7 separate regions of the Homo sapiens genome follow, and regions 1, 2, 3, 4, 6 and 7 are each linked to region 5. The links are contacts of gene promoters, found by promoter capture Hi-C in blood cells and fetal thymus (Javierre and others, 2016). All regions are on one chromosome and are shown on one strand. Each heading gives the region's core, a stretch centred on a gene start or on the middle of the fragment in contact. The rest is flanking DNA. Distances are from core to core; before and after follow the strand shown.

Evidence for each region. Contacts are between HindIII fragments. The CHiCAGO score rates a contact against its expected background, and 5 or more counts as called.
Region 1: a fragment that was not itself captured here is called in contact with the fragment with the promoter of MAD1L1 in region 5 in 2 of 17 cell types (M1 macrophages and M0 macrophages); the score reaches 7.3 in M1 macrophages.
Region 2: the fragment with the promoter of MAFK here is called in contact with the fragment with the promoter of MAD1L1 in region 5 in 1 of 17 cell types (M2 macrophages); the score reaches 5.1 in M2 macrophages.
Region 3: a fragment that was not itself captured here is called in contact with the fragment with the promoter of MAD1L1 in region 5 in 12 of 17 cell types (M1 macrophages, M0 macrophages, fetal thymus and 9 more); the score reaches 15.5 in M1 macrophages.
Region 4: a fragment that was not itself captured here is called in contact with the fragment with the promoter of MAD1L1 in region 5 in 2 of 17 cell types (M2 macrophages and M1 macrophages); the score reaches 6.2 in M2 macrophages.
Region 6: a contact is called between a fragment that was not itself captured here and the fragment with the promoter of MAD1L1 in region 5, in 1 of 17 cell types (M0 macrophages). The highest score is 5.0, in M0 macrophages.
Region 7: a contact is called between the fragment with the promoter of TMEM184A here and the fragment with the promoter of MAD1L1 in region 5, in 2 of 17 cell types (erythroblasts and monocytes). The highest score is 6.4, in erythroblasts.

Annotation. Positions count from the first base shown.
Region 1 is chr7:1,616,875-1,620,028 of GRCh38, reverse strand. LOC105375303 (a long non-coding RNA gene) reads right to left here and starts at 434. Exons shown (of 2, transcript NR_165252.1): 1 at 1-434. The HindIII fragment of the contact is 6,488 bases long and covers 1-3,154 here.
Region 2 is chr7:1,529,179-1,532,090 of GRCh38, reverse strand. It overlaps MAFK (MAF bZIP transcription factor K), which reads right to left and starts at 1,389. Exons shown (of 3, transcript NM_002360.4): 1 at 1,193-1,389. RefSeq lists silencers at 670-799, 1,290-1,559. The HindIII fragment of the contact is 17,285 bases long and covers 1-2,912 here.
Region 3 is chr7:1,594,311-1,597,206 of GRCh38, reverse strand. LOC105375123 (a long non-coding RNA gene) reads right to left here. Exons shown (of 8, transcript XR_001745048.2): 3 at 303-446. Among named protein-coding and RNA genes, the nearest start is that of PSMG3-AS1, 26 kb to the right of the region's middle. The HindIII fragment of the contact is 5,076 bases long and covers 1-2,896 here.
Region 4 is chr7:1,635,195-1,638,157 of GRCh38, reverse strand. No RefSeq gene overlaps it. Among named protein-coding and RNA genes, the nearest start is that of ELFN1, 34 kb to the left of the region's middle. The HindIII fragment of the contact is 3,020 bases long and covers 1-2,847 here.
Region 5 is chr7:2,231,509-2,234,461 of GRCh38, reverse strand. It overlaps MAD1L1 (mitotic arrest deficient 1 like 1), which reads left to right and starts at 1,517. Exons shown (of 19, transcript NM_001013836.2): 1 at 1,517-1,590. MRM2 (mitochondrial rRNA methyltransferase 2) reads left to right here. Exons shown (of 3, transcript NM_013393.3): 3 at 1-267. RefSeq lists enhancers at 132-664, 1,399-1,528, 1,314-1,608 and silencers at 1,243-1,621, 1,599-2,018. The HindIII fragment of the contact is 9,650 bases long and covers 1-2,444 here.
Region 6 is chr7:1,496,514-1,499,684 of GRCh38, reverse strand. INTS1 (integrator complex subunit 1) reads left to right here. Exons shown (of 48, transcript NM_001080453.3): 6 at 53-212; 7 at 325-430; 8 at 524-710; 9 at 833-978; 10 at 1,132-1,273; 11 at 2,371-2,547. Among named protein-coding and RNA genes, the nearest start is that of INTS1, 6.3 kb to the left of the region's middle. The HindIII fragment of the contact is 9,142 bases long and covers 1-3,171 here.
Region 7 is chr7:1,554,928-1,557,669 of GRCh38, reverse strand. TMEM184A (transmembrane protein 184A) reads left to right here and starts at 1,465. Exons shown (of 9, transcript NM_001097620.2): 1 at 1,465-1,556; 2 at 2,186-2,404. The coding sequence starts at 2,186. RefSeq lists silencers at 1,190-1,279, 1,320-1,389 and enhancers at 1,047-1,846, 1,983-2,277, 1,847-2,647. The HindIII fragment of the contact is 30,451 bases long and covers 1-2,742 here.

The DNA of each region.
Region 1 (3,154 bases), core at 443-2,942, 610 kb after region 5:
GGCCCGGGCGGGGGCGGGAGAGCAAGTCCAGGGTCACAGGCGTGGAGGGGTGCTCCGCGTGAGATGCGGCCCTCCTCCGAGGCGGTTCGGATGAGGGGGACCCCCGAGAGCGATGGGGACTTGGGGTCCCCGGGAGGAGTTAGCAGTAAAGCAGCCGCCACGGTGGGGACCCTGCAGGTGGCCAGGGAGGGCTGGATGCGGTCTCCTCTCCCACCGGCCCATCTCCCTGCCCCCAGCACAGGACGGGCTCGCGTGGGGGGCTGACGGGAGCTCAGGGGCCGGTCAGGCCCACCCCTCACTCCCCGGTCCAGGCCTGGGGGCGACAGCAACTGCGGGCATTGGAGGAGGCCGTCTGACGCGCAGCCAGACCCCGCCACAGAGAGTGACCCGGAGGCCCAGGGCCCCGCTCGGGCGGGTGAGGGTTCCTGCACGACGCCAGCTTCCGGGGGAAGCGGAAGCTGCTCACACTCACGGCTCCACCCAGGTGGGGCCCTTCAATAACTCGGTTCCGCTAACGTGGTGCCGGCTTCACACACCGGCTCCCCCGCCGCTCAGACGGTTCCAGCTGTCCTTCTCCCCTCCTCGCGTTCTTACCAACGCACTTGGGGCTGGAGAACCCTCGCGCCACCCACACTCACACACACACCTACATGTACATACACCCTACACACACACACCTACACACACCTACACACACCCCGACACACATACACCTACACACAACCCCTACACACACCTACACACCCCTATACACACACACCTACACACACCTACACACACCCCTACACACACCTACACACCCCTATACACACACCGCCACACACCCCTACATAACACACACCCCTACATACACACACACCTACACACACCCCTACACACACATACAGCTACACACACCCCTACACACCCCTACACACCCCTACACACACCCCTACATACACACACACCTACACACACACATACACACACATACACCTACACACACCCCTACACACACCTACACACACTACATAACACACCCCCCCACATACACACACCTACACACACCCCTATACACACACCTACACACACCCCTACATAACACACACCCCTACATACACACACACCTACACCCCCTACATACACACACAACCCTATACACACATACACACATACACCTACACACACCTACGCACACCTATGCACACCTACATGTACACACACCCTACACACCTACACACACCCCTCCACACACCTACACACACACCTACACACACACACCCCTCATAACACACACCCCCTACATACACTCACACCTACACCCCCTACATACACAACCCTACACACACATACCCCTACACACACCTACACACACCTACGCACACCTATGCACACCTACATGTACACACACCCCTACACGCACACACCTACACACATACACCCCTACATACACACACCCCTACACACACCCCTACATACACACACCCCCTACATACACACACACCCCTACACACATACCCCCTACATACACACACACACAGGCACACACACACCTGCAGAGGCACACACACCCCTACATACACACACACACCTATATACACCTACACAGACACACACACACACACCCCTACACACACATACATCTACACAGGCACACACACACACCCTACATACACACCCCTACATACACACACACCTACATACACACCTACACAGACACACACACCCCTACACACACACATCTACACAGGCGCACACACACACCCCTACATACACACATCCCTACATACAAACACACACCCCTACACAGACACACTCCTACACACTGGTCTCCCAGCCTGTGCCTCTCCCCGTGGAGTGCCCCCTCCACCCTGCAGCCGAGGAGCCCCCAGCCCTGTGTGGGACCAAGGCTTCAAAGCCCCCACTGACCCCACCACCCATAAGATCAAAAGCGAAATTCCTCGGTGGGTCAGTTTGCTTGGGCCGCCATAACAAACTCTCACAGACCAGGTGGCTGAAACAACAGACGTTTATTTCCCACGATCCTGGAGGCTGGAAGTCCAACATCAAGGTGTGGGTGGGGCTGGATCCCCTGAGGCCTCCTCCTCAGCTTCCAGACAGCATCTTCTCCCCATGTCCTCACGTGATTGTCCTTCCGTGAGCATCTGTGTCCTAATCTCCTCTTCTTAGAAGGACTCCAGTCAGATTGGATCAGAGCCCACCCTAGTGACCTCATTTTCCCTCCATTATCTCTTTAAAGACCGTGTCTCTGGCCAGACACCGTGGCTCGTGCCTGTAATCCCAGCACTTTGGGAGACTGAGGCAGGAGGATTGCTTGAGGGCAGGAGTTCAAAACCAGCCTGGGCAACATAGTAAGACCCCATCTCTACAAAAGAATTTTTAAAAATTAGCCAGGCATGGTGGTGCATGCCTGTGGTCCCAGCTACTTAGGAGGCTGAGGCAGGAGCATTGCTTGAGCCCAGGAGGTGGAGGCTACAGTGAGTCCTGATAGGGCCATTGCACTCCAGCCTGGGTGACAGGGTGAGACCCTGTCTCCAAAAAATAAAATAAAATAAAATAAAAATAAAAATAAAAATAAAAAGATTCTGTCTCCAAATACAGCCATATTCTGAGGTCCTGGGGGTGAGAACTTTGGCGTATGAATTTGAGGGAGACACAATTTACCCCATGACGCAGGGCATGAGATTGAAAGGCCTTCGCAATCCAGGCACCATCTTCCTTCCCAAAGCCAGATCCCGGGGGCCATGTGGGGTGTCCTGAAAGCGGGAAAGTTTGCCATGGTGGCCCCCAGTGGAGGTCCTGGCATCCTTGTCTCTGGAGGTCAGAAATTCTTAAAGTAAGCGTGGGCTGCCCTCCCTGCCCTGGGCCTCCTGTCCACTTGAAAGCACACACAGGAGTGGGCTTGGTCCAGGCTGGGGGAGGAGGAAGGTGCCCTGGACCAGGAACCCAAACACCAAGGGAGCAGCAATGGGGAAGTGTTCTGTCCTGGCCCCACACGCTGGCAGACCATGCTGGTGCTCCACACGTCATCACTGTCACAGCAACTCTGCAGGGCAGGAGGTGTGACCCCAGTTCACAGATGAGGAAACAGAGGCTCCTCAAGGACGCAGGGCTCACCCGAGGTCACACTCAGGAGGGAAGAGCTGCATGTGGG
Region 2 (2,912 bases), core at 140-2,639, 700 kb after region 5:
CCACACAGATATCCCCTAGACCACGATGGGGGGCGGTGGGGGGCGTTTTGAGTCTCAGGATCTTCCCAAGGCCAGGCACCTGGCCAGAGATTGGCTGGCTGCCTGTGGGTCACCTGGTGAATGAATGGTGAGTGGATCTAATTTCTGCCTCAGCTACAAGAGCTACTTAAGAAGCAAGAAAACAGCATGCTCAGGGACGCAGGACACCAGGAGAGGGACACGGGAGGCCCCGCGAACACGGACACACACGGTGTGAGCGCGAGAATGCAGTGCAGGGCCACTGCTGTGTCCCAGGCGGACCCAGGTCAAGGGCCAAGGCCAGGCGGGGTCCTGGCTTTCTGGGTTTCTCGGTGGCGCCTGGTCCCACCCCCCAGGATCTAGAGGCTGTGCAGACGCAGACACACACAGTCACGGGCACATACACAGTTTCCTGAACTTGACAGAGGCACAGAAGAACTCACGCAGTGGGAGCGGGAAGAGGCCGGAGCCCCTGCCCCACACGTGAGCAAAGGGACGAGCCTTGGGGCCACTGTCACCTGCCCCCCTCCCGCCTCCCCACGGCCTTCCTTCCAGCAACCCTGGCAGGTGGGCGGCTGAGAGCGACACCAGTCCCAGGATCCCGCCTGTGGGGAGACCCGGTTACCCCCACCCCGTTCCCGGGCACGCGTGACCCCAGCCACTGGGCCAGAGCGCCGCCCGTCACCGGGAGGAAGCGCGGGGGGCAGTCCGGGGCCGCACGCGGAAGCCACGCTGGGGCGGAAGCCGCGGAGAATCCACGCGCCCGCGCCCTCCCCGCACCGCCCGCACGTGGCGCCCGCCCCGCCCCGCCCCCCGCAGGTGTGAAGGCGCGGGCCCGATGCGCGCCGCCGACCCGCGTGGATCCTCGTCCTCCCAGGTCTGGGGTCCGCGCCCTGGGGCCCCCGGCGCGGCAAGCATGGCCCGGGCGGCACGTGCAGGGGAGAGAGCCTCGCGTCCCGGGGAAGCCCCCGGGCCTGCGGGGCGGGGCCCACCTGGGCAGGTGCCCGGGCCGCGCCGCGGGCCGCATGAGGGTCTCGGGCCCCGCGCACCCAACCCCGCCACCCTCGGCCCGCGCCCCCAGGCGGCCGTGACTCAGCGGCCAGGTAGCCCCGGCCCCGCGCCCCGGTCCCCGTCCCCGCCGCGGCCCGGGCCCCGCTGCCCCACCGCCCCTCACCTGGCGTCGCGCGGAGGGCGCGGGCGCGCGGCGGCTCCTCGCGGGCACGCGCTGTCCTCGCGCCGGCGCTCACTGTCGCGCTCCCCTCGGCCGCCGCCGCCGCCTGGCGCTCGGGCTCCGACTTCGCGAAGAACAACAAGTGCCCCCGCGCCGCCCGCCGCCACCGCACCCGCCCGCCCGGCTCCCCAGCATCTGACACCGCTTCCGGGATCCGCGGCGCGCGCGTCACACCGCCCTGCCCCCCGGGCCACGCCCCCTCCCCGCCCCGCGGCCACGCCCCCCGGCCACGCCCTCCTCTCCCGCCCGGGGGGCCGCTGGCCCCGCGCGCACCTGCAATCCCCGCGCTTTGGGAGGCCCTGCGGGAAGATCTCTGGAGGCCGGGAGTTCAAGACCAGCCTGGGCAACATAGCGAAACCTCCCTTCCCCCATTCTCTGTCTCTATAAACATAAAAAACATTAAGGCCAGCTGGGAACGGTGGCTCATGCCTGTAATCCCAGCACTTTGGGAGGCCAAAGCAGGAGGATCGCTTGAGCCCAGGAGTTCCAGACCAGCCTGGACAACACAGTGAGACCCCCATCTCTACAAAAAAATTACAAAAATTAGTCGGGCGTGGTGGTATGTGCCTGCGGCCCCAGATATTCAGGAGGCTGAGGCAGGAGGATGGCTTGAACCTGGAAGGTGGAGGCTGCCATGATTTCATCACTGCACTCTAGCCTGGGTGACAAGGTGAGACCCTGTCTCAAAAAAACAAAACAAGCAAACCAGCAATGTAAAAATGGGGATAAGCGGCTAGTGATCACAGCCTCTGTGGGTGGGGCCAGCCCCCTTCTAAAGCCCCAGCTGGTGGTTGCCAGGGGACACAGCAGGCCCAGGATGGGGTTAGGGCACCACTGGCCCAAGGAGTCCTGTGAGGGATCCTCAGGTGGGGGCGGGCCCCTGAGGGAGCTGCCTCTGCTTCCTGTCACAGGTGGAGGACAGGCTGGAGAGGGGATCCGTCTGGAGCCCCTTGCCACGCTTCTGGGTCCCCAAGTCCCGCCCCCCTCTGAGCGCTGCAGGAAGAGGAGTTTCAGGCCTGGGCAACCGAGGGCCCCCCAGGACACCCATGGCATCTGCCCGGGGTTCTGGGAAGCCTGTTTTCTCAGCTCAGGTGGGACCCGGGAGCCTGTTTTCTCGGCTCAGGTGGGACTCAGGAGCCAGTGCAGGGAGGTCTGTGCATCTTCTGGGTGTCGTCCTTACCACCATGTGGCTGGGGATTTAGGCAGCAGCCCAGTGGCCTCTTGCTGTGGAGCGCGGGGGCAGCCTCCCGGGCCATCTCTCCCCCCCACTTGCGGGTTCTGCACTGGCCACCTGGGAGGCCCCTCCTTGCTAAGGCCCACACGGCCGTCTGGGGCAGCTAGCCACAGTGATGCCTGCAACCTGGCCGCAGAAACAGGTGCCAAGAAATAACTCAACAGCAGCAGTAGCGACAATGTCCCACGTCCCCAGGATGTTTGCAGAAAGACATCCCCCGGGGATGGGAAAGGTGCTTCCCTTGTCCTGGCCCACACTCTGCACTCGGGGTCCTGGGATGCGCTGGGAGCCTCCAGAGAAGCTGTGGCCATCTCCGCGGGACTCTTTACGTTACTCATGGTGTCGCTCCTCTAACCCAAATGCATTCTTTCCATAGCAGGCTTTTGTTACTAATCACACACTTTTATTATCTCTTTAATTTTTTAATTT
Region 3 (2,896 bases), core at 204-2,703, 640 kb after region 5:
GTTCCCTCCTGACCTGTGGGATGGTAACTTTCTGTGGTTTTAAGTCCCACAGTTTGCAATAACTCATCATGGCAGTTGGCAGTTGAAGGAAGCTGCCTCTCTTTCAGTCCCTAAAACATTTGAGTCCTTTTCTGCCTCCGAGCCTTTACATACACTGTTCCCTCCGCCCAGAATGCTTTTCCCTCGACCTCCACCTGCCTGCCTTCTGCTCGGCACTCAAGCCTCAACCGAAACATCACCTCCTCAGATGCTCCTCCTCGAACCACCCGCCCAGGCACGATTGCGCCCCTCCACGTTGGTACCGTCGTGGCGCTGATTGCCGGAAATGGGCTCACGCATTGACTGGTGCGCTCCTCTTCCCATCTGTCCACACCCCCGGATGCGGCCATCAGCTGTCTTGGCCCCCGAGGTGACCCAGCGTGGACACGGCACCTGGCACAGGGTACCTGGTTGGTAAACGAGCATAGAGTCAGTGACTCAAGCAGAAAGACCACGGGGAGAATAATTTGCAGGCCTGGGGGAAGAAAAAGCAGCGTGGACCCTGGGAACCACGTGTTTCGCCTGCGTACACTGTTGCCATTCTCTGCAATGGCAGGAGAGAGGCTATTGGGTTTTAAATCTCCAGGAAGCTGATAAATGCATTTGACTCCCAGCGCCTCATAGGTGGAGTACACCCCCACCCACACACAGCCATTAGAGCCCTGGGGATAGGGCACGGAGCCTGGAACACGTCGGACCCCACTAACGCCAGGCCATCACTCCATCTCCCTAAATATCTGATTTCTGTCATGCGGGGCTGTAAACTGTCCCCACGCACACGGCACCCAAGATTGTATCAGGGGCTGAGTGGCCTCTGCTCCTCCAGGAGCTTGTAGATAAACACGGCTGTTTCTCTCTTGGCTGACACGGGAGGGGAATGTCGCAGCCATGAGGCATTGAGAGGTTAAAATGTTTAATTAATTTTTCCTGACCGGTCTTTGCAGGGCCCCTTTGCAGACGAAAGGCACTGTGGCCCCCAAGGTGTGGCTTCGCTAATGGAGTCAGAATCTGTACAATGGGTTAAAAATGCACAAATAAATCCCCAGCTCCTAAGGGTTGGCCTGGAAAACTAGAGAGATGGCTCCCTGTTGAGTGAGGAGGTGAAATTGAGGAATTGGAATATGATTTGGGGAGAGGGGTTTATCTTGATCTCTGCACCCTCCCTCCCCCGACTTGTTTTCCGGGCTCTATCCTGGAAGGAGCCGGGGGTGTGGGCAGCGGCGGGTGAGGGAAGGGACGAGGGGATCGTGAGGTGAGGGGTGCTCACGATCCCACCCCACCCCATGCCCGTGCCACAGCCAGTCCCAGGACTCTGGTGCACTGGAGGTGCTTGTGAAACAGCTCCAGAATGAACGTTCAGGTCCCTATCTCACCCTCGCCCCTGCCCCACCCTCTCCAGACTTGACATGGGCAGGACTGGCCTCTTCTCCATCCCATGGCCAGCTTGGCCCCTGCTGCAGCCCCAGCCCAAACATCTCTTCATCAGAAACCACCCAGGCCCCCGGATTCCAATTCATCCCAGCTGGTCTCTCCAGATTCTCAGCATTCATGTACACAGAAATACAGGCATGTTCGTTTCTTGTTTTCTTTCTCTTCTACTAAACAGGGAGCTCCGTGGAGGCAGTGGCCTTTCTAGTCCTGTTCACTGCCGTATCTCCAGAGCTGACAGAGCTCCTACAGTCCTAGACAAGCAAGGACTGCTTGGATGAGTGGGAGGGTGGATGGCTGGGAGGATGGATGGAGGGAGGATGGATGTGAGGGTGAATGGATGGGAGGATGGATAGACGGATGGATGGGAGGGTGGATGGGTGGGAGAAGGGATGGGTGGATGGATGGATGGATAGGAGGATGGATGGATAGAAGGGAGGGTGGATAGACGGGAGGATAAATGGATGGATGGATGGATGGATGCATGGATGCATGGATGGATGAATGCATGAGTGGATGGGAGGGATGGATGGGAGGATGAATAGATAGATGGATGGGAGGGTGGATGGATGGGAGGATGGATAGATGGATGGACGGGAAGGTGGATGGATAGGAGGATGGATAGATGGATGGATGGGAAAGTGGATGGATAGGAGGATGGATGGAGGGATGGACAGGAGGATGGATGGAAGGATGGATGGGAGGATGGATAGATGGATGAACGGGAGGGTGGATGGATGGGAGGATGGATGGATGGATGGATGGATGGATGGATGGACGGACGGGAGGATGGATAGATGGATGGACGGGAGGGTGGATGGATGGCAAGATGGATAGATGGATCGATGGGAGGATGGATGGGTGGGAGGGTGGATGGATGGGAGAATGGATGGATGGATGGGAGGATGGATGGGTGGGAGGGTGGATGGATGGGAGAATGGATGGATGGATGGGAGGATGGATGGATAGAAGGGAGGGTGGATAGATAGGAGGATGGATGGATGGATGGATGGATGGATGCATGGATGGATGGGAGGGTGGATGTAGGGAGGATGGATGGATGGATGGATGGAAGAGTGGATGGATGGGAGAATGGATGGATGAATGGGAGGGCGAATGGATGGCAGGGTGGAAGGATGGAAGGATGGATGGATGGATGGATGGATGGATGGATGCATGGATGGATGCATGGATGGATGGGAGGGTGGATGGATGGGAGGGTGGATGGATGGGAGGGTGGATGGATAAATGGATGGATGGATAGATGCATGGATGGATGGATGGATGCATGCATGAATGGATGGGAGGGTGGATGGATGGGAGGGTGGATGGATAAATGGATGGATGGATAGATGCATGGATGGATGGATGCATGCATGGATGGATGGGAGGGTGGATGGATGGGAGGGCGGATGGGAGGATGGATAAA
Region 4 (2,963 bases), core at 88-2,587, 600 kb after region 5:
CCTCAGTTTCCCCATCTGCAAGCTGAATCCGTTGAGTGGGATGAAAGCAACACAGGAAGGCATAAAAATAATGGCGCAGTTACTTAGTCCTTCCTGCCTGCCATGCTGTGCCACAGAATTGACATCCACCAACTAAATTTATCCTCCCAGCTGGGCATGGGGGCTTATGCTTGTAGTCCCAGCACTTTGGGGGTCTGAGGCGGGAGGATTGCTTGAGCCCAGGAGTTCGAGACCAGCCTGGGCATTTTAGACAGGGTCTTGCTCTGTTGCCCAGACTGGAGGGCAGTGGCGTGACGTCGGCTCACTGCAACCTCCGCCTCCTGAGTTCAAGCGATCCTCCTGCCTCAGCCACCCAAGAGCTGGGACTACACATGTGCACAACCTCACTCAGCACCAAATTTTTGTATTTTTTTATAAAGATGGGGTTTCACCATGTTATTTTCCTAGGCTGGTCTCAAACTTCTGGGCTCAAGTGATCCACCCACCTTGGCCTCCCAAAGTGCTGGGATTACAGGTGTGAGTCACCATGCCTGACCTTCTATTTTCAAATTCAAAAAATTAATTAATAAATCCTCCCAACACTCCAGAGAAGTGGGTACTGTGTTCTAGCCATATGCAAATAGAGCTGCCAGGTATGCTTATATCTGTCTCTGTGTGAACAGATGATTTCATCTCTCTTGGGTGAGTGCCTGGGAGTGGAGTGGCTGCTTCTTATGGTAGGTGCACATTTAACTCTCTAATAATTGCCAAACTTCCCCAGCGTGGCCGCACCATCTTGCATTCTCAGCATCAGCACTCAGCATAGAGTTCCAGGTGCTCCATGTCCTCATCAACACTTGCTGAGGTCAGTCTTCTTCATTTCAGCCACTCTAGTAGGTGTGAAGTGGTATCTCATTGTGGTTTTATTTTTCATTCCTGAATGATTAATAATGTTCAGTCTTTTCATGTGCTTGCATGTCTTTTTTTCCCCACTTAAACTGACTTATTTGAAAACCTGTGTATCTTCTTTACAGAAGTGTCTGTTTAAATATTTGGCTCCATTTTATTTTATTTTATTTTTTTGAGACAGGGTCATCCTCTGTGACCCAAGCTGGAGCACAGTGGTGCAATCACAGCTCACTGCAGTCTGGAACCCCTGGGCTCAAGCAATCCTCCTGCCTCAGCCTCCTAAGCAGCTGGGACTATAGGCACATGCCACCATGCCCAGCTAATTTTTTGTAGAGATAGGGTCTCACTATGTTGGCCAGGCTGGTCTCAATCTCCTGGGCTCAAGTGATCCTCCCACCTCAGCCTCCTAAAGTGCTGGAATTAGGCATGAGCCACCTTGCCTGGCCCTCTTTAACCCATTTTAAAAATTGGTTGTTAGTCTCTCATTATTAAGTTTAAAACATCCTTGTATTTTAAATACAAGTCCTTTGTCAGGTAAATGTTTTCAAATATTTTCTCCCAGTCTGTAGCTTGCATTTTCTTTTTCTTTTTTTTTTTTTTTTTTTTTAGACAGAGTCTCACTCTGTCACCCAGACTGGAGTGCAGTGGCATGATCTCGGCTCACTGCAAGCTCTACCTCCCGGGTTCGCGCCATTCTCCTGCCTCAGCCTCCCGAGTAGCTGGGACTACAGGTGCCCGCCACCACGCCCAGCTAATTTTTCGTATTTTTAGTAGAGATGGGGTTTCACCGTGTTAGCCAGGATGGTCTCGATCTCCTGACCTCATGATCCACCCGCCCCGGCCTCCCAAAGTGCTGGGATTACAGGCATGAGCCACCGTGCCCAGCCGTAGCTTGCATTTTCATGGAGAAAACCTTAGTGACCGTGAGTCTGGCAAACAAACACTCTGAGGGGACACACAGAGACCTGGCCTCCCAGGTGGATGCCTCAGCCTGGGCCCAACCCTCCATATGAACTCTGCTGTGTTTTCAGGCCCTTGGCCTGCTCTGCTTCTCTCTGACCCAGGGCCGACTCACGGACCCTTTCGTTCTTCACTCTGGCCTCATCTCTGGGGCCTGGAGCTGGGCCTCACCTCCAGGGTGACTTCCTGGGCCCCACAAAGTCTGGAAACCCAGGTAAAGGCACAACAAAAGGCACGATGACTCGCAAAGCCCCATCCCAGTCCCTTCAAAGGAAATAAGGGAATATCTCAGGGGTTAGTGAGATAATTCATGTAAAAAATCAGTTGTAAGATAATAAAGTTCTGTGCAAACTCCAAAGTACTTCAAAATCCAGAAAACATTTCATAAACTCGGACAGCCAGCCTCTAAGAGGGCCTCCAATGATGGATCCTCCCCTCCTGGTGTTTATGCCCTTGTATAGTCTCTTCCCATTTTGAATAGGGCAGACCTATGCAATAATAGGATATCCTGGGAGAAACAGTGTGTGGCTTCTGAGACTAGGCCACAAAAACAATGCACTTCTTTCTTGCTCTACGGATTTCTCACACTGGGAAAACCAGTCATCAGGGCACAAGGAAACCTAAGCAGCCTATGGAGAGGGCCACAGGGTGAAGAGCTGAGGCCTCCAGCCAACAGCCCTGTGCAGGTGCCATCTTGGAAGGGAGCCTCCTGCCCCAGTCAAGCCTTCAGATAAATGCAGCCTTGTCTAGCTGCTCCTGACTGCAACCTCATAAGAGTCCTTGGGCCAGAACCACCCAGCTAAGCCACTACCTAATTATTTACCCCAGAAATTATGGGAGATGATACATGTTATTTTAATTTGCTAGATTTTGAGGTAATCTGAGTAATTTGTTGTGCAGCAATAAAAACTAATACCCATTTGCTTTGTGAACCAAAATAAAATAACAATAAATAAACTAAATTTGTAAGTAAGAGAGCACTTTGTCAAACTTAAAGCTTTTCTTAAACCATTGCCAGATTTTGCCCACTCAGGGCAAAGCTAAATTCATTCCTCCATGTGGAAAACAGGGGCCATGGAGGCTTTGGGTAGGAGATTGCTTAGGAAGCAACAGGA
Region 5 (2,953 bases), core at 268-2,767:
CTGGTGAACAATATAGCAATTCACGCATTCTTCAAGCAGCAAAAGTTCCCGGAACAATTAGGGAAGACGTATGGTCTGAATTTATCCAGGCAGTGGGTCTGCTTTGGTTTTTGCTGGAAATTTATATCAGTGTCTGGGCTCCCAAGAACATAAATGTAATTGCCAAAGCAAGCAGTGATGTGGTGTGTTTATTTTCTTTTACTCATCTAGGAACTTGACGCAGCTTTATATTTAATAAAATAATAGAGATTGCATTATTTTAAGGTACTTTCATGCTTTGAAGTTTTGTTTTTTTTAAACTGGCTTCCTCAAAGCCATTTCCTGGAGGTGTACTCATCCCTCAAGAAGAGTTTGTTGACTATGATTAAATTCCAAGGACCAGTGGGGGAAGTCTGGAAACCCAGGAATCTCCATCAGGAATCTGGGGCTCTGTCCAGCTCCCCGAAGGAAACTGCGGGTCAGATGTTTTGATTTTTTTTTTTCTTTGAGAAACAGAATCTCACTCTGTCACCCAGGCTGGAGTGCAGTGAAGTGATCTTGGCTCACTGTAAGCTCCACTTCCCGGGTTCACGCCATTCGGCCTCAGCCTCCCGAGTAGCTGGGACTACAGGCGCCCATCACCACGCCCGGCTATTTTTTTTTTTTTTTTTTGTATTTTCAGTAGAGACGGGGTTTCACCGTGTTAGCCAGGATGGTCTCGATCTCCTGACCTCGTGATCCGCCTGCCTCGGCCTCCCAAAGTGCTGGGATTACAGGCGTGAGCCACCGCGCCCGGCCGCCAGATGTTTTGACTTTTCATTTTATTTCTGGTTGCAGTCAGGTTGTTAAGTCCAGGGACTCTTGCCCTACTCCACCTCGTTCTCTTATTCCATTTCATTCCCGGGGCACACAACTTGGAAGTCTTTCTCTGAAAGAAGGAAAATTCATTGCAGACCCTTAGGAACAGCATCTTCTTAGAGGGAAGCCAGGGGCTGGGCAGAGACGGGAGGAGGAGAGGAAGAGAATATGGAAACGAGTAAGGCACACTCTTCTCAGGAAGGCTCCAATTTGAAGGATAGACAAAGGTTACCATAATAATGGTGGGGCCTGACCTCACCCCATTGGATGCTGTGCCCTGGCTTGCAGAGCACTGGGAAGGTAGCCTAGTAGCATAAATTGCATTTCTAGTGGGCCCAGAAAAAAGCAAAATAACGGATTGATTCAAGCTGATACTGAGTAGCAAAATTTTGGGAAGAGTCAACGGTGCAAGTTTGTCCGAGGAGGCTGCCGTGGGCGCGGCTATTCCACACATTACGGCGCGAGGCGAAAGCCTTAGTGGAAGCGCGTCCTGCGCAAAGCCGGGGGGCCCCCGACTGCGCCTTGGCTCAGCCTTCGGTTCCGAGTCCTTTCCGTGCGGAGTCTCCCAGGGGTGGCGGCTCCGGGTGCGGACGCGGAGTCCCCAGGATCAGCCGGTGCGCAGACTCGGTTCTTTACGGCCCGATTGCCACGCAGGTCTCGCGAGAGCGCAGGCGCAAGTGTCGCGATAAATGGGCGCCGGCGGAGCGGAGGGAGATCCGAGCGGCGGCGGCAAGCTGGCTGCGAGCGGCTGAGGTAAGCGGCCCGGCTCGCGCGGGCGGCGGGGTCCCGGGGTCCCGGGGGTCCCGGGAATGGCAAGGGAGGGGCCGAGGGCCCGGACCGGGTGTGCTCGCCAGGGTGGGGCACAACGACCCAGACCCCGTGCCTCAGGACCCCGCGCCCGCCCCGTCTCCCATGGGCGCGCTCTCCTCTCTGTGCTCTCCCCTCCTCTCCCCACTCCCCTGTCCCCACTCCCCCTTTGGGCTGTGCTGGGGACAGCGGGCCCCTCGCCTGGGTCTCCGCAGCCGTCCCTTGTGCCAGGGCGGGCGGCCGAGGGGCGCGTGCTCGTGGTCCCAGCCCCGGGGTCCCGCTGCCTACCGTGTGGGTCCCCGGGCTAGGGTGCCGGCGCGCCGAGGAAGGGGCCTGAGCTGGCGCCTGGTGGAGAAGTCGGGGCTGCAGGGGCTCTTGGCATCCTGGTGGCTCGCGCCGGTCCGCTCTCAGGAAGGGGGCGTGTGGGCCCGGTTTCCCCTCGGGGATGGCAAGGGCCACCCTGATCTCGTTTGGGCAATGGAGGAATTGGGCTGTGGAGCCTCCTTCCAGGCGGGCCTGCCTCTGCGGGGCTGGCAGCCTGGGGAGCTCAGGCCTCTGCTTGCACCAGGCCAAGGTTCTTGTTAAATGGAAACTCAGAAACTGTGCAGCTGCAGAAGTTCTACCTTTGGCTTTTAAACGCGCTTGGCTGTTCCCTAGTTGTGGCTGGTGGGCCGGCCTGCCATGAGCCCATAGTAAGCGCCGGTGTTGGGGGTGCAAAGTTCTTTACTGCGGTTTGTCTTCAGCCTTCCAAAGCCAGACAGACCCAAGTTCCAATCTCCGTTCTGTAACTTTTTGAAGCTTCGGTTTCATCATCTCTAGAATCTGTGTAAAAAGACCTAATTCACCACCCTGTTGAGACTGAGCTTACAAATATAGTGCTGGTCAACCTGCAGCCGTATTCCCATCATCTAGCGGTGGAAGACTTGAGGGATATTGGCCCCGTTCCCCACAACTTTGCAAGTAGATTTCACTGTCATGAGTTTACAGATGAGGAAACTGAAGTTCAAGAAGTCTCGGTGCTCGGAAATGTCAGATACCTTTCTTTCTGATACCTAGTTGAAAATAGTAGTAGTACTTATTAATGTCACTAGAAATAAACAATGAAAATGAGCACAGCTGTGATGATCATCATCTTTACTGTCACTGTTGCATGCCTCGTTTCTGATTCCCAGAGGCCAGATTTTTTTTTTAATTAATTATTATTATTTTTTGAAACGGAGTCTTGCTCTGGCACCCAGGCTGGAATGCAGTGGCGCGATCTCAGTTCACTGCAACCTCCATCTCCTGGGTTCAAGAAAATCTCCTGTCC
Region 6 (3,171 bases), core at 609-3,108, 740 kb after region 5:
ACCTGGCTGCTGCCCGGCTGGGCTCGGGGCTGAGGGTGTGGCTGCCACACAGGTGTACATCGAGGACTCCCTGGGGGAGCGGATCTGGGTGGACAGCCCTCACTGTAAGACGTTTGTGGACAACATCCAGACGGCCTTCAACACCAGAATGCCCCCCAGGAGCGTGCTGCTGCAGGGGGAGGCGGGCCGCGTTGCGGGCGACCTGGGTGCAGGTGAGACACACGGCCAGCCAGAGAGGGCGGGTGTCCAAGCCCCAGGGCAGGGGAGGGGTGGGAGGATGGGCGGGTGGGAGGCGCTGCATGGAGCCCTCTCCTTGGTTTGCAGGGAGCAGCCCACACCCCTCCCTCACGGAGGAGGAGGACAGCCAGACGGAGTTGCTGATCGCGGAGGAGAAGCTGAGCCCCGAGCAGGAGGGCCAGCTCATGCCCAGGTAGCTGCGTGCCTGCCCGGTCCCAGTTGGGGGCGGCGGGGGCGGGCGCCTCGGGGCCACCTTCCTCCCTCCTCGCTCCCTCCTCTGGCCTAGGTACGAAGAGCTCGCGGAGAGCGTGGAGGAGTATGTCCTGGACATGCTGCGGGACCAGCTGAACCGGCGCCAGCCCATCGACAACGTCTCCAGGAACCTCCTGCGGCTCCTCACCTCCACCTGCGGCTATAAGGAGGTGCGGCTGCTGGCGGTGCAGAAGCTGGAGATGTGGCTGCAGAACCCCAAGGTGCGGGGGCGCCCCGGGGGGGTGGGCGGGGCAGGGGGTGGGGGCAGGCTCTGTGTGGCCCCACAGCGTGGTCTTCCTGCCGGGGTGGCCGTGAGCCCACTGCTCCCTCCTCGGCCCCGCAGCTGACCCGGCCGGCCCAGGACCTGCTGATGTCCGTCTGCATGAACTGCAACACGCACGGTTCCGAAGACATGGACGTCATCTCACACCTGATCAAGATCCGCCTCAAGCCCAAGGTCCTCCTCAACCACTTCATGCTGTGCATCAGGTGCGTGGCGAGCCGGGGCAGAGCGGGGGTGCGGGTGGAGTGGGGGTGTGGGTGGGGGTGTGGGCGGAGCGGGGGTGCGGGCGGAGTGGGGGCACAGGCGGAGTGGGGGCACAGGCGTAGCGGGGACAGGGTCTGTACCCTCACCTCACCCAGGGAGCTGCTGAGCGCGCACAAGGACAACCTGGGCACCACCATCAAGTTGGTGATCTTCAATGAGCTCTCCAGCGCCCGGAACCCGAACAACATGCAGGTCCTCTATACCGCACTGCAGCACAGCTCAGAGCTGGCGCCCAAGGTAGGCCCAGGGTCCCTGGCCTTGCCCTCCACGCCGGAATATGGGGCTCTGGGCTGGAGGGGCACGTGGCGTCTGGGGAGGCCGGTGGATTGGCAGTGCTTCGTGGGAGAATGCTCCTCGGTCTCGGGAAGGAGCTTTTGAAACTCACGTGGGCATGAGGTTGAGCCGTTTCTAGAGTGGGTGCAGCCACAGCGCCCAGCGTCTTTCTCAGAAACTGACACTCTGTCCATTTAGGAGGGAGCCACATTGAGTCTTAAAAGCCACCCAGGTTTCTGAGCTAAGACCCAGACCTGTTGCCTTCTGTTTTTATTTTTCAAGCTCATTCCTGCCTTTGGATAGTAAGGTAGTTTTTAAAAATTTTGTGGAGACCGGGTCTTATTATGTGGCCCAGGCTGGTCTCAAACTCCTGGGCTCAAGCGATCCTCCTGCCTCAACCTCCCAAAGTGCTGGGATGACAGGCATGAGCCCCTGTGCCTGGCCCAGACCCGCCTCCTGTGCATTGGGTCCCTCGGTTAAGCAGGGGTCCCTGTAGCCCTGGCTGTAGGACCCTTGGATTTCCGTGTCTCCTTTGAAGCGGGCTCGGGAGATGCTCCCATCGCCACCAGCGCATTAGGCCTCCCGGTGGGCTCTATGGAGTGTGAAACACGAGGGAGGCACAGCCGCTCTCAGCTCCGCGTTCAGTCTTCGCGGCCTGGCATTTTGAGACAGGAGTGCGTCCTTTCAGATCCTTTCAGATCTTGGGTGGTGGCCTTTGGTTTCCGTTCAGCCCGTGGCGCACGGGTGGGCTGAGATGGCACACGCGCTTCTATGGCTTTGCCGCCTGGTGTCCCGCACCCCCAGCTTCCGTTAATTAATCCTCCTCATTTCACGAGGACCGACTCCCCACCTGCCGGTTCTCAGAGAGGGGAATCAGATGTGATCCCTGCTCGCCAAGGGCTGGCAGCCAGTAGAGCAAGGAGCCCGCCACCCCGCACCCCACACTGTCTGAGACCCACTGCAGCGCCCTCGGGCGCCATACCTGTTGGTGCTGCGGGAAGGGGCCTGTGACAGGGACAGCACTGTCGGGCAGCCTCCCACGCGGCCTCTCTCTGCCCCAGTTCCTGGCCATGGTGTTCCAGGACCTGCTGACCAACAAGGACGACTACCTGCGGGCCTCGCGGGCCCTGCTGCGGGAGATCATCAAGCAGACCAAGCACGAGATCAACTTCCAGGCCTTCTGCCTGGGGCTCATGCAGGAGCGCAAGGAGCCGCAGTACCTGGAGATGGAGTTCAAGGTGCCAGCCCTCGCCGCTGGGGCGCCTTTCCCTCACTGCGGGTTCCACGCGCCGCCATCCCCCTCGTCCTGGGTCCCATGCACACTCCACCCCTTCGGATGCTCTGGCTGAGCGTGGGTACGGGGATGAGTGAGGCTGTTTGCGGTGACGCGTCCCAGAGGGTAGCATAGGCTCTGTCCTGTGTGAGGACCTATGAGGGGCTGACCAAGCACAGGGGAACTGGCAACCCCTAGGCTGGATGGGATGAATTGCTGCCGGCAGCAAGGGGAGCACGGGAGCAGGGAGGCAGGGTGGGGCTGCGGGCTGCCTGGCTGGGTTGGAGACTTTTCGAGGGCTGTGGAGGGAGCTGGCGCTGGAAGGCACAGTGAGGGTGGATCACAGAGATGCCAGGTCCCTGCAGCCAACTCGCAGCCAGCCTGCCGGGGTGGCCTGTTTTGCGGACGGGGCTTTGTGGATCTCTGTTGACTGAACCTCCCTCCTGTGGCCAGACTAGGACCTTGTGGGCCACCGGCCCTGGTGCCCCTCCTGTCAGGCCCCTCTCCCAACTGGTCCTGGGCTCTCTCTCTGGATCCCTGCTTGTGTGTGTGTATGTGTGCGCATGTGCAAGTGTGTGCGTGCTGCACC
Region 7 (2,742 bases), core at 216-2,715, 680 kb after region 5:
GCACTTTGGGAGGCTGAGGCGGGCAGATCACCTGAGGTCAGGAGTTCAAGCCCAGCCTGGCCAACGTGGTGAAACCCCGTCTTTACTAAAAATACAAAAATTAGCTAGGTGTGGTGGTGGGCGCCTGTAATCCCAGCTACTCGGGAGGCTGAGGCAGGAGAATCACTTGAACCCAGGAGGCGGAGGTTGCAGTGAGCCGAGATCGCGCCATTGTACTCCAGCCTGGCGACAGAGCGAGGCTCCGTCTCAAAAAATAAATTAATTAAAAATAAAAGGGGAACAGTGGCTCCAGTCATTCCAGCCTCAACCCCTTGAGCCCTGTTGCTCAGGGCTGTGGGAGGGTAGGAGATATGAAGGACAAGGAGTGTGTGGATCCGTTGCGGGCATGGAGCGGGACTTGGTAATGGTGGCCCCAGCGGCATGAGCCCAAGCGTAACCAGAACAGGACAAGAGGTGGGCTGAGGGCCCACATCCCTCTCCCAGGAGCCGGGGTGAGTGAGTTTTTTCTCCACAGGGGCCTCTGCATGGGGGTGACAGGGACCCTCAGGGCCCCGCAACCCCTTGCCAGACCCCAAAGGGTCCAGGGACTGGGCTGTCACTCCCCCTCTCCTGCCTTGATCCACAAAAACCAGAAATATTTCCTTTTTTTTTTTTTTTTTTTTTTGGACACAGAGTCTCCCTCTGTCCCCAGGCTGGAGTGCAGTGGTGTGATCTCAGCTTACTGCAACCTCCGCCTTCTGAGTTCAAGCGATTCTCCTGTCTCAGCCTCTTGAGTATCTGGAATTACAGGTGCACGCTGCCACACCTAGCTAATTTTTGCGTATTTCGTAGAGACGGCGTTTCACCATGTTGGCCAGGCTGGTCTCGAACTCCTGACCTCAAGTGATCCACCCACCTTGGCCTCCCAAAGTGTGGGGATGACAGGCGTGAGCCACCACGCCCGGCCCAGAAAACAAATGTTTTCAACTCATCTCTTGGGGCGTGGATTTTTTTTTTAATTCAGATGAAATTCACATAACATCAATTTACCCAGGTTTAAGTGAACGATTCGGTGGCGGTAAGTATATCCACAGTGCTGTGTGCCTGCCGCCTCTACCTCATTTCAGGACTCCTGTCACCCCCCAGAGAAACCCTGTACCATTAGCTCTCCACCCCTCCTCCTGCAGCCCGGCCCTCCTTGGCCTGCCGCAGACCTCTCCCACGTGTCCCCACCAGGTGGCAGCTGCCTGGCCGTCTGGCATAGGCAGGTGAGGGCGCCAGGCGGCCAGCAGGTTCCTGGGAGCCAGCTGCCACCCAGCAAACAACCGGGAGGATAGGGTGTCAGCCGTGGGAGGGGACAGGAGGGGACGGGCCTGCAGCCTGGGGCCCAGGTGGGCCACTGGGGACGTGAGGCACTGGCCGCCCCGCCCCAGCCTGGCACAGCCCTTCAGATCCTGGCCTTGCCGCACCCACAGTGGGGCCTCCAGTTGGGGCCACGTGGCCATGAGAATGACCAGCTAGGCTTCCCTGGAGGCCAGGCCTCCCTGGACTGGGCCAGGTGCTTCCTGCCAGCAAAGGTAGAGCTGGGCCCTGTGACCGCAGACCAGAGGGAGAGGAGGAGGCTGGACTGGGCTGCGAGTGTGGGAGAGGGTGGACTCAGGGCCCCAGCAGGTTAGTGGGAGATGGAACAGGCACCCAGGGCTGCCAAGAACCCCAGCAAAGCCGGGCTCCCAGGTGGGTGGACAGGTCCCAGAGCCAGTGAGGGCCGGCTCCTCCCATGAGGGTGGCTGCACACCCCCTCCTGCCGGGGCAGGCAGTGCTGGTCTGCGCCCGCTCCCCAGCCCTCCCGGGCAGGCAGGGCGGCAGGGGTTCCCCCTCTTCTGCCCCACTGGAAGACGGTCTTTGTCCCCTAAGAAGCAGGCTCCCTGCAAGCCTGAGACTCGGAGTTGGAAGCTGGTTTTACAAGGGGGAATTGAGGTGGGACCCTCAGGTCGCAGGTGGTTGATGGGTGAGCTTCGATGGCTGAGCTCGGAGCAGGGAGGGAGCCGGGCCTGGCGCTGGTGTCCGTGTGGGGGGTGCGGCCTGGTGGGTGGCTCAGCCTCAGCTCCCGTCTCACTGTCTCCTCCCTCCCCCGCTGCTTCCTGCTGCCGGGAGCCAGTACCTTTGCCCTCACTCCTCCCGGTGTGTGTCCTCCCTCCCTCTGCAGATGAGTAATGTCTCAGGGATCCTGGAGACAGCCGGCGTCCCCCTGGTGTCAGCGAACTGGCCGCAGCCCAGCCCCCCACCGGCTGTGCCAGCTGGGCCGCAGATGGACCACATGGGGAACAGCTCCCAGGGGGCCCCCTGGCTCTTCCTCACCTCCGCACTGGCCCGAGGCGTCTCGGGGATCTTCGTGTGGACTGCCCTGGTGCTCACCTGCCACCAGGTAAGCCCTTCCGCCCCCGAGCCTCCTTCAGGACCTTGGTCTCCACAGGACGTGGCCGTGGCTCAGCCCGGTCCCCCTGGGTGCCGCTGCTATAGACGCTGTCAGAAGTGGGATCGGCCAGGGCACGGGGGAGGGGATGAGCTTCCCCAGGATGTGGCATGTGGGAGCTGGGCCTGAAAATGGGGAGATCTCTGCCAGGCTGAGGGCAGAGCGCCCACCGGGCACCCCTGGCTATTTCACAGGCTCGTCACTCGGCTCACTGAGGTCTGCAGTGTGGTCCCATTTCACAGACAAGAAGACTGAGTCTCAGAGAGACCAGAGGTCTTTCCCAGGCTCAC